2 separate regions of the Homo sapiens genome follow, and region 2 is linked to region 1. Evidence: promoter capture Hi-C in human tissues and cell types (Jung and others, 2019). All regions are on one chromosome and are shown on one strand. The core of a region is centred on a gene start or on the middle of the fragment in contact, and the rest is flanking DNA. Distances in the headings are between cores, read along the strand shown. Region 1 holds the start of CIDEA (cell death inducing DFFA like effector a). Region 2 overlaps C18orf61 (a long non-coding RNA gene).

Evidence for each region. Contacts are between HindIII fragments. The study calls those that stand out against the background at their distance.
Region 2: a fragment that was not itself captured here is called in contact with the fragment with the promoter of CIDEA in region 1 in 5 of the 25 tissues and cell types used here (IMR-90 fibroblasts, bladder, hippocampus and 2 more).

What each region holds. Positions count from the first base shown.
Region 1 is chr18:12,251,014-12,257,163 of GRCh38, forward strand. It overlaps CIDEA (cell death inducing DFFA like effector a), which reads left to right and starts at 3,348. Exons shown (of 5, transcript NM_001279.4): 1 at 3,348-3,408. The coding sequence starts at 3,371. LOC105371996 (a long non-coding RNA gene) reads left to right here and starts at 4,000. Exons shown (of 2, transcript XR_935158.3): 1 at 4,000-4,418; 2 at 4,566-6,150. RefSeq lists an enhancer at 2,484-3,090. The HindIII fragment of the contact is 10,266 bases long and covers 1-4,704 here.
Region 2 is chr18:12,213,334-12,218,956 of GRCh38, forward strand. It overlaps C18orf61 (a long non-coding RNA gene), which reads left to right. Exons shown (of 5, transcript NR_049896.1): 4 at 5,315-5,499. Among named protein-coding and RNA genes, the nearest start is that of C18orf61, 15 kb to the left of the region's middle. The HindIII fragment of the contact is 5,582 bases long and covers 297-5,623 here.

The DNA.
Region 1 (6,150 bases), core at 2,098-4,597:
CTTACTGACCATTCTGCTGAAGATGCCCTGGCTATGTGTTTAACGGTGTTTGGATTAGTCCTCTTCCAGTGCTTGATGGTTCACAATGTATTTCAAAAGCATTACCTCACTCGACTCTCACTGCACCCCACTGAAACTTGGTAAAAAGTGCATGTCATCAGGGATCAGTAGGAATAAAGAAACTGAAGCTCAAAAAGGAAAGTTCCCACAGTGACAGAATTTGAAAGTAGCAAGGCCAAAGTTCAGGGATGATTGTTTCCTCCACCAAAAAAAAACAAAAACAGAAATTGGATTAGAAACTGGAGTTTCTTTGAACCCTAAGCACCGATGTTTATAACGTATTGCGGTAAGTGGGAATCAATTTCTGTTTCAGGCACGCGCTCTTGGCTAGGAGTAGGGAGTGGAGCCGTTCATTGCTGTCGTGGTCAGTCCCACTCACGCTGCTGGAGCTGACCAGGCCGGCCCTTCCCTCATGGCATTTGAGTCTCACACACCCTGTGAGACAGACAGGCCGCTGCCCTGTGACAGATGAAGATCTGAGGCTTGGGGTAGTTATGTGACTGGCCCAAGGTCACCCAGCTAGAGGAGGCAAAACCAGGCTAGGAACCTAGGTCTCTGCACTCCAGAGCATGGGCTGTGCCCAGCACATGCTGAGACTCGGGGAGTGGGGAGGCATCCATACTTTGGAGAAAGAGCAGAGCCCACTGTGGCATCACCCCACAGATACTGCTGGGAGCCGAGGGAAGGCAATGCTGAGGTCCCTCCCTGAGGGTGTGGGTGTCAGGTGGAGCCCACTGTTCACAGCTGCACAGGCTCTGTGACAACAAACATTTGGTGAATTGAACTAAAAAGCTGGGTTCCCAATCCTGGTTGCCCGGGCACAGAGTAGTTGTTGAACATGGATGAATGAAACCTGTCGAGTGAGAGTGGAATGAATTTGTGTGCTGGAGACGAGAATATGCTGGAAGGCTGGGCATGACTCGCACTGTTGTCTTCTCCATCATCTGTTGGGTTTGCAGCCAAGTCCCCTGGAGCTCAGTCTGCCCTCTGCCCTCTCCCACCTCTCCCCACCACCCTCCTAGCGCAGCACTCCAGGATTCCCACTCAGCAGCAGGGCAGTGACCGACTTTTACTCCCAGCCTGAAGATCTGCATGAGAACCAATGCACACCAGGGCTATGCTGCCTCCGTGACCAAGGGGTCCCCAGGGCCTGGTCTCACCACCATCTCCGCTTCCACCACAGACTTGCTCCCGTCCAGGATTCCTCATCTCTCCAGTCTCCCAAGCTCAAAACCCCAGGGTGATCTCCTGCTGGGTCCCTTCTGCCATCGCCATGGCCTGGAAATGTTTGCTAGTCCCCACCCCACCCCCATGTCCACACTCAGTGCCCAGGTCTTTATTTTTATTTTGTTAGAAGTGATAATGTCACTATGGTTATGTATGAGATCATGTCCTTGTTTCTCCAGAGATGCAAGCTAAAGGATTTAATTTGGAAGGGTTCAAATTCAAATATAAAGAACAAAGAAATATGTCAAAATGTTAACAGTGGTTGAATCCAGGGGCTGGGTGTAAGTGTGCTCATTGTACTGTTCTCTCTTATCTATCTATCTATCTATCTATCTATCTATCTATCTATCTATCTTATATATAGATAGATAGATATATACACACAAACAGATTTTTTTCTTTCTTTAGAGAGAAAGTCTCACTCTGTTGCCCATATTGGAGTGCAGTGACATGATCACAGCTCACTGCAACCTCAAACTCCTGGGCTCAGGTGATCCTCCCTCCTCAGCCTCCTGAGTAGCTAGCACTACAGGTGCTCGCCGTCATGCTTGGCTAATTATCGTTATTTTTGTGTAGAGATAGTAGTCTCACAGTGTTACCCAGGCTGGTCTCAAATTCCTGGCTTCAAGCCATCCTCCTGTTTTGGCCTCCCAAAGTACTGGGATTACAGATGTAAGCCAGTACCCTCAGCCCTGTTCTTTCTATGTATCTCTATATTTGAACTTTTTCACAATAAAAAGGTTAGAGGTAAGTTGACCTGAATTGATTGGACCCATTTTCTCATCCATCACATTGGGGCTGTGAGTGGGAGGGGCAGTGAATGACCTCCTAAAGCTGTGTCCGCTCAGTGCCTCTGGGGGAAGCTGCCCCCTGTGAGCCTGGAGCTGGGTGTTCCCAGCAGGCGGAGTCCTTGACTCTGGAAGGCAATTGCCTTTGGCTTCAACAGTCCTGCAAGTCACAAGGCTTGTTGACCACGGTGACCCTTTCTGAGAGCCAGCGGAGGAAGAGGGCGGGCATAGGGTCAGGTCTTAAGAGATCAGGTCAGTCTGCTCAAACCAGGTGGGCTCAGGAGGAGCCGGCGAGGGTCCCGCTGCAGCTCCCGAAACGCTGTTTCCAGGCGGCAGTCAGCAGTTGGGCACGAGAGGATATCCTAGCAAGCCTCCATCCCAGAAAGTTACACCTCTTACTGCCCGAGTCCCACCCCTCAACACTGAGCCCACCTCTTCAGTCCTGTAGTGAGGGGTTCTGGGAACCCCTTGTAACTGCCCGCCTTCCTCGGAGGTCTCAGAGGCCCTAATTGCGTCTTCCGATGGGAACAACCATGAGAGCAGGGTGTGGACGGAAGTCCCCCAGCCCCAGCGGGGTTCACTCTTTGCCTCCTCACTCTGCGAGGGTCCCTTACTACAGCTAAAAGGCAATTCATGCAGTCCAAAGGCTCCTTTCCCCTCCCGTTCTGCATGCCCTTCTCACTGTCCCCAAATGCTCATGACATGGCCTTGAGAGCAGCGCAGCGGGCAGGAAGCCCAGGCGCCTCGGAGAACCTGAAGGGCTGCAGGTCCCGGTGTCTGCGGCAGCTTCCGCATCCCTGCAGGGAACCAGCGGCTCGCTGAGCCTGGGGCTGGGCTCTGGGGGACTCCAGAGCTGGAGGCAAGTGGCGCTCACATCCGTCTCCTCACCTGCCCCACCCGTGGCCTGGGTTTAAAATCCACATACCCGTCTTTCCGCGGCCAAAGTGATGCTGCCAGGATTGGTTATGACCCCAACTGCCCCGACCCCCAGAAGTGCAAAACGAACAGGCTGGCAAGTGACCAAAAGAGACCCGGGGAGCATCTGGGCTTCCAAGGTCCTCGGTACGGCCCAAGGCAGCGAAGGACGCGCGGCTCCAGGCTGCGGGAGCCAGGACGACCGGGGGCTCCCAGAGCGCGAAGTCGCGATCCTCGGCGGTGGAGAGCTCGTGCCAAAACGTCCTCCCCTGCGCCAGTCAGGCCTTCGCGGGGCTGGCAGGCGGGCGGGGGCGGGGCCGCCGCACTTTAAGAGGCTGTGCAGGCAGACAGACCTCCAGGCCCGCTAGGGGATCCGCGCCATGGAGGCCGCCCGGGACTATGCAGGAGCCCTCATCAGGCGAGTGCCCCGCGTCCCCCTGATTGCCGTGCGCTTCCAATCGCCTTGCGTTCGGTGGCCTCATATTCCCCTGTGCGCCTCTAGTACCGTACCCCGCTCCCTTCAGCCCCCTGCTCCCCGCATTCTCTTGCGCTCCGCGACCCCGCGCACACACCCATCCGCCCCACTGGTGCCCAAGCCGTCCAGCCGCGCCCGCGGGCAGAGCCCAATCCCGTCCCGCGCCTCCTCACCCTCTTGCAGCTGGGCACAGGTACCAGGTGTGGCTCTTGCGAGGTGCGCGGGCGTCTGCAAACCAGGTGACAGCTGGCGAGTGGCTGCATGCATCTCTGGCCGCTGCTGCAGTCGCGGGCGCAGAAGAGGGTCCGGTCCCAGGAACCCCGAGCAAAGCTTCCGCGATGCGAGGGGACCGGGCTTCTGGGGGTCCTGGAAATCACAACGGGAGCTGGGCGCGGGAGGGGCCCAGGCTTGGCCCCTCCTGGAAGCGCGGGCTCTGGTCTCCGAGGGGAGGCCCCAACCGTCCGGCGGAGCCCTCCAGGTTGGTGGTGCTGGGAGAAGCGCTCCTCCTTGCCTCCGGGTCCAAGGGCGGAGACGCTGCCTGGGGAGCAGGGGGGACAAGGGGCGGGTGGACCCTGAGGAGTCTTCCCTGCGCTTCGCACCCGCTCGTGGTCGAACAGGCAGCATTGGCTATTTTCCTGCTTGGGTTAATATTCATATCCCAACAGACCCAAGCCAATTCTTGGTAAAATCCTAAGTCATTGCGTGGCAGCAACTGTAAAGTAAGGTCTAAGAGGGAGATCGTGTTTCTCTGAAGATCAAGTACCTGGAAAAGGATAGAGAACCATTTGCGGGCTTGAAGGTGCAGGCGTTCAGCGGCGCCGGGTCCCACTGTGTGTGCTACGTGTGGCGGGCAGAGAGACTACATGTGTGAAAGGGAGCGGTCCGGCTACGAAACGCAATCTATGAGCTTCCAATCCCGGGTTCTTAAATGGGAGCTGTTGTAGACACTGCAGGTTAGAAGCATCTTTCTCTTTAAAAATAAGCCCACAGTACAAGTCGGGGCGGTGGCAGGGGGACGCTGAGAAACACCTGCTTCGTGTATGGTCATTAACACGCTTAGGCCTAAAGGTCAGGGCCCTGTATCTTTTGCGTTCTTCCAGAACCATCCACACCACAGTCCCACTTCCAGGAGGGGAGGTCTTAGCAGTTTGGAATGCGTCCTTCCAACCACTTTTCCAGTGAATTCACAACACACCCACTGTTCCTCCGGAGCATGGGGGAAGGAGGTGTGGGCTGACTCGCACTAACCAATCCTGGTTGGCCTCTGAGCAGGATTCAGGCTGAGCCTGTCCCTGCCTCTGACTATTATAACAGCTCACCAAAATCCAAAATGCATCTGTGTGGGGTCTCTGTGAGGTCGTGTGAAGTGGAAGTGACTTGCTTATGAGCTGTTGACAAATGAAACATTGGGAAACCTTGAGTCTCCTAGGACACATTCCTTCCAGCTTGGCTCATCCCAGGAGTGAATGACTCTACCTGTTATGGACAAGCTGTTGCTGCAGTTCTTTGAAATCTACCTGCTTCCAGGCTGAACTACTGTCATTCTGTGAAATCTACCTGCTCCCAGGCTGAACTACTGTCATTCTGTGAAATCTACCTGCTCCCAGGCTGGACTACTGTCATTCTGTGAAATCTACCTGTTACCAAACTAAACTGGAAGAAAACAATCTGTAATTCTTGTTGAAGGGAAAACACCTTTTCTTCCCTGCCCCTCTCTAAAACCCTGTCCGGGCAAAAGAGCCAGAGGCCAGGTCCTAACATATTTGCTAATTGTGCTCTTGCTGGACTTCGGCTTCCTCTCAGGGTTCCTTAATTTAAACCAGGTCCAGGATGTCATAATTCTGTCTTTATTAGTAACTACATTTTACCAAGGAAAGAACCGAATCAATGTGCACAAAAATTTTTAAAAATCAGGTACTTGTAGTCAGTGGTGAAACCTTAACCCAGGCATTTGTTAGTCAGCTAGAATCGTTAGGGGCCTTGGTCCTGAGGAAAGCAGCCTGAGGTCTCACAACAAAGCTCCAGACATCAAGGAGGTCCACATGCAGGTTGACTATCACAGACAAAGTCTGCTCTGTTCCTGTGTTCTGCCAGTGATAACATTCCTGCCAAACGCTGAAGTTGTTATGAAGCTGGTACATGTTATAAGCTTCGTGTGAAATGGCTGCTTTCATAGCTATCTAGCACATTTTTCCTTTCCTTGAACAAGGAACTCTAGGTTTTGTGCTGCTATTTCAGTACAAATTTCACCAGTCTTCTTAGTGACATTAGTAAGGAATTAAGTATGCTACAAGTCAATCTCTCAGCTTTCTGCTTCTTGAATTTAAATTCTTATTTTAACGAAACTGCAAAGTGTTCAAAGACTTCATGGTCATGTATTGAACACTTGATAATGTCAAGCCTTTAGGTAGCTTGCGAAGAACTGAGCCATGAACCAGGCAGTCCTTGTCGGGGCGAGTTTATCTGGGGGGTAGGTGTGCTCCCACCTGCATATGTCACGTCCAAGAGCCCTAGGGGAGCCGGGCAGCAGGAAGTCTCGTCAAGGCAGCACTTGCTTCCCTGCTTCCTGCCACTGACCCCACCATCCTCTGACACTGTCTCTACAGCTCAGGGACTCTTCTCCAGGCCTGTGGAGCACTTTCCCAGCCCTCCCTTCCTTCTCTGCGTGGCTGTGCTTGACCTCAC
Region 2 (5,623 bases), core at 1,838-4,337, 38 kb before region 1:
ACTGCAAGAATCACTTCAAAAACTAAAGTGCAGTGGAGATTTCAACTGTGTTCTGTTTAGTATTTGAATATTTAATTGCATTCCCAGGTTATTTCTCATCCTAATAGTTCTCACCCACATCATGTGGGTCCCATTAGTACAGGTATCTCCGAATGCTCCACTCTTCCATTACATTGAGTCAATTGCTCATGACCTTGGGCCTCCAATTGGGGCTATTTTCCTGCTATCCATCTCCTGGTCTATAGTAAAAGAGCCAATGAGCAGATAAGTGAATACTGAAAAACATTTTCCCTGCTGGAGTGAGAAATAAATGGTTTCTTTCAATAGGGTAGTAAAATGCATCTTTCCCAACCTATTTATATGACTCAAAGCCCAGATGTGGTTAGCCTTAATTCCTGATTGTCATCAATGTGTGTAAATATGTAGCACATACATATTCTAGTCTCTATTTTTTATGAAATGTTTTTGTCTCCCATGGCACAGTGCAGAAGAACACAGGTGTTTGTGTCAGACAGCCAGGGTCCAATCCTGCTTCTGCTGTAGTGCAATGTAGGTAATATCTGGCCTGCATTTGGTTTATATGTAGGAACTCTGTCTTGGTTTAATGATTTTTAAATGCTACTAAATTCAGCTTCAGAGGAAGCTGTTTAGATTTGTAGAAAATGGAAACTTTAAAAAATTTTCTTCCCAGAAGCCAAGAACACTTGACTCATGTCAAGTCTACTTATTTATCCACCTGTCCATCTGTCTGTCCATCCACCCATCATCCAACCATGGAACTCAGTGCCAACTCCTGAGGTGGTAATGCATTACAGACTCTCCTGTTCTTTCTAGTCACATATTAAAGTGTTCATAAGTTGACCTTGATTGTGATAAGCATCAAGCCCACTTTCTCCAACACTGTGGATTGCTATCCCCCAACACCCCCTCCAGCTCAATCAGGCAGGCGGGCTCCTGCACTTCATAACAAGCTTACTAGAATATTTCCACCACCTACACAAGAGGGAAAAAAAGTTGTCTATTCTTTAATATTTTGTTTTAGCATGACATCTTTCATGAAAATTTCTCCAGTAGCCACTCCCAGAGCTTGTTTTTCCCCTAATATTTTAAAACCACTGAAAAGGTTTCACTATATGCCATGTCATCTGGCACAATACATTGATTGCCTTGTTTCCTTTGGTTTGGTTTTGGTTCTTCAGATTGACTTAAGGATTGGTACTTTCTACTCTGTTTATTGCATCTGTGCTCCTGAGGAAGATTAGCCTCTGGTTTTCCTCTAGGTCTGCTTTAGTGATGAGAAATCTGACACTTTAGAGGTGAAACACTCACCTAAGAGGACCAGGGAGTTAAGTCCATGTTTTATGCCAAAGCCCATTGTTTTCCAGCAGCCATGACATCATTTCTTACTGTATTGGTAAACACTTGGTAGAGACACTCACCTTTAAAATCTCCTGTGGTTGGTGGTTTCATGAGTATGTTGTGTGTTCCTGGCAAGGTATTGTACAGCACTGCCTATGAGGCATGGAGGAGTCTCACATGAAGGCCGCCTGCATCCTGGGGGAGTTCCTGAAGCTACTGCCCATGTTTCTCACAGGGAGGCCAGGGAAGATCAGCCCCATTCTGTACACAGGCAAGCCATGAACTGAGGACATCCCTTTCAGGGTATGAATTCTGAGGAATGTTTCTAAGGTGTAGAGAAACATGAAAAACTGGAAATCCATTATGTCTGGAGGTAAAAACAGAAGACCAGAGGGACAGAAGAGCTTGTGCAGTGGTCAGAGGCAGGGATATTTGGTGTGTTTGCTCCTCTGCTCACCTCGCTTTTCAACCTCCCTGCTGGATTTTTGAAGTCATTTGGGTCTGGGTGTCCCATTTTGGTGAGTGGCTTGGACTGGAGGAAGTCCATAGAGTATGGCAGAGGGTACTGAAGGCTGAGGTAGAATGAGGTAAATGGGAATTGGATAAGATGCACTGGCTGCATTTGGTGACATTTCTGCCTGAGTAGGTATTCAAATATGCACCGCCACTTCTTGGTCCCCCTGAGACAGCTGGAGAACTGAACTGACTTTCACTGCTCTGTAATCAGATTGTTTGTAGTAGTTTAATTTACTCATCAGGTGACAATAATTATTGAAAATATTCCTAAAATGAACTTTCTGCCATTATTATGAATAGCGAAGAAAATTGAAGCTTTCTTGGGAGATCAACAAAATGCTGACTTGGTTTCTATGTATGCCTCATGGGTCATAGCACCCAGCCACTAGCCAGTGCTTGCACCCTTTGCTGGCCCCAGGACTAGGAGGTCAGGGTAGCCTCTCTGATGAGCCTCTGACCTCCAGCCTCAGTAATGGCAGCACCCCTTCTCCATGGACTTCCACACCAAGGTCCAGAAGCAGGTGTCAGAGAGAGAGAGAGAGACCGAGCTCCTCCTCACAGGGGGTTGCCGAGGGCCCCCTGGGCTCTGCCTAGAATGCTCTTGGAGAAGTGCAGATGGAGAAGCGGATTAGAGGCTCCAGTGGTTGGGTCCAGTGAAACTAATCAGAGTGCTAGAGACAGGAGAAGACATTTAGGTTAATTTTATCTCTTTCCACATACAAAAACTAAGGCCCTATTTTTAAATGAAATTGTTTTTCTTCCTTTTAAGTGTCTCTAATTGTACCTGACTTTTGCTGACACTCTCGACGTTCAACCATATATTCACAAAACTTCATTCATGTTTGTCATGAGGGATGCATTTCTCACCTGCTCGGACAGGTGAATGCACCATCCAGATGTCCCTATATACATCACATGAAGGAGGTAACAGATGAGTCATCCACACACTAACACAGATGAGTTTATCAAACGCAGCCATTAAGGATGGGCCCATGTTACCAAGGGACAGAGTGGGGGAAGGTGCTCATTCCAAGAGGCTGCTGCAAGAGTTCAGTCAACCCAGGACACCTAGAGCCATCTGGGCCTGAAGCCAGGGGCTGGCAAGTGACAGAATGGACCACAGAGTCTTCTCTTTCTCCTTCCACATTTTCAATAGACCATATACTGTCATAGTATTTTGTGAAACATTTAAAAATCTAAAGTACAACCTACATACAGAAAACACATGAAACCTAAATACACAGCTCTGTAACTTATCACAAAGTGAGCACCCATGGAACTACAAGTCAGGTCAAAAACTAGAAGTTACCTGCACCCCAAAACTGTCCTTCTATCTCCTCCTTTCCAAAGCTAGCCACTACAACTTTGTGTGCTAGAGTTCGCTCTCTTTTAGTTTGTGCTTATTATAAATAGAATAACTCAGGATGTGTGTTCCTGATGGATGTGTGGCGGCTGATGACAGAACTACAAGGAGAGCAGTGCCATGCACTAAACCCTGATCTTGTTCTGGGCATTGGGCTAAAGCTTTCCGTGGCTCATTCCATTTAGTGGCTGGAAGTTGCAGAGGTTTCAGAAGCTCATCCAAGATTCTGGAGCCTCCATCTCCAGCCCTAATGCTGTCCGCCTTTTCACCCAGCCACCACCTGTTTCAGGAGAACACACAGAAGTGATGACCTTTTCTGGACAGGCAAGTAAATCCTGCTGTTTTTATTATTCACGGAAAAAACACTGGCTCATGGGAGGTGGGAAGGTGACAAACTCATTCTCCCTGGACCTCAGGAACCACAGATAGGATTATACTGACTACCAGTATTTTATTCCGTTAGTTCTACCTACATGAGTCCTGTAGTATTGAAATGCGTTAGGTTAGCATTTTTGGCCGATGTACTTTACATTCTGGGTTAGAGGTTTTTAAGATTCACCTGTGTAAGCTGACTTAGTTTTCTGTAAGTTTGTGAAAAAGTACAAAAATGGTGATCTCTTTTATCATACAAATAATTTCTTTTTAATAGAATGTTTTTTCTAATTAATGTATTAATGTACTCTTCATTCAACACATTCGCTTACATTTGAACTATTTTATGAATGAATGTTTAATTGCATAGGTGAAGATTACTAGTCACGGGCATTTTACTAACTGATTCTCATTAGGCATAGGTTCATGTGATTTCAAGGAGCTATGTTTTGTTTGGTAAAAGTAATAAAATAGCACAAGAATGAATGCAAGCACTGAAGCACGATGGAGGCGCCTGTCATGACTTGTCTATGATTTACATCACTCGTTATCTTTCCAGGTTGCTTATCATCCTGATAATTGTCATCAGCATTGTTTGGGTCCTTCTAGCACAGTTTCACAAAATGGGCAACTCTTCCATTAGGTAGAAATAATTCCATTTGAGCCTTTAATTGCATCTGTCTTCCAGCTTCTTCTTTTGGAAGAGTTAATTAAAGGGTAGATACATTAGAAATTTTTTTTCCACGTTAGAATGAGCAAACCACAATGTTCATTTCACTGGAGTAGCAGAATGCTTCCTTTTGACCTCCCAAGCTCATCTCAATTTCATTGCAGTAGCCCCATTTCCTAATGCTCACCAAAGTGTGTAAGTACAGAGGGCGTTCCTGTAGTCAGGTGTTTCTATTTCTTATGATCTGTGATATTTATACATAGCACAGTGCTCAGCAGCACAGATTTGGGAGTCAGGATGCTTGGATCCAGTCCTTACTCTGATACTGAATAGAATTGTGATCTTGAGCAAATCCCTTGAATCTATGTAAAAGTATTATAATTCTACCTTATTTTTGAGGTTCCTGAGACGATTAAAGTTTTTTTTTTTTAATGAAGCCCTGGAGCACTAGATGTACCCTTATCATTATTATTATTATTTTCAGGTGTTGGTCAGGTTCAGAGACATTAATATCTCTTTGTCTTTATCTTCATCTCTCAAAATCATCTGCTTGCCTTTATGCAATACTGTTTTTCTTAAATGTAATTCCTTGCACAGGAAGACTGGGGATTACCACCAAATTTTGAAAGTAAATAAAAGCTCTTAATTATCAAAAATTTTAATGGAACTGTGAAAACCACCTAATATCAACTTTCTAAATTGTATAACATAAGTCAGTTCTGTTTATTCTACAAAGTGAATATTTTTGAATCTATGTATAATTAATTATATTAATTACATTTTTCAAGGAAACCCACCATTTTGGATCATGGAGTGCAGGATTTATGAGTCTCCTGGAGGCTGGAGAATCAAAGTACAAAGCCGTGTTCCAGCTCTGGAGTGCAACAGCCCACTACTAAATACACATGTATTTGCAGCCTTTTTGGCTCAAGGCTAGATGCTTGTCAGTCCTTAGGTTGAGAAAGCAGGCATGGTGACAATTATGACCTCTCCTATTTCCTCAAATCTCTGATTCGTTCTTGCTTCTAATGCAGGATACCCTCTGAGGTCAAATCATTGGGCTTGTGGCCATGAGACCACAGACTTTGCCTAGCTTCCAGTGACTGTCCGAGATGACCTGTGGAGTGCACCGCCTGTACTTGGACATCACTGTCTTTTCCGATCCATACCCGTCATCCTTGGAATTTCCCCTGCATCCAAACCTGTTCCTGATACAGGTGTGAGTAATGAGTAAGGAATTTATGGTTTTATTTAAAGATAGGAGCTTTGCTTTTTAAAACTGCTACTCATGTACAGGTCCCAGGCCAGTGGAATCATGGCAACACAGATTCCCAGAGCTAGAA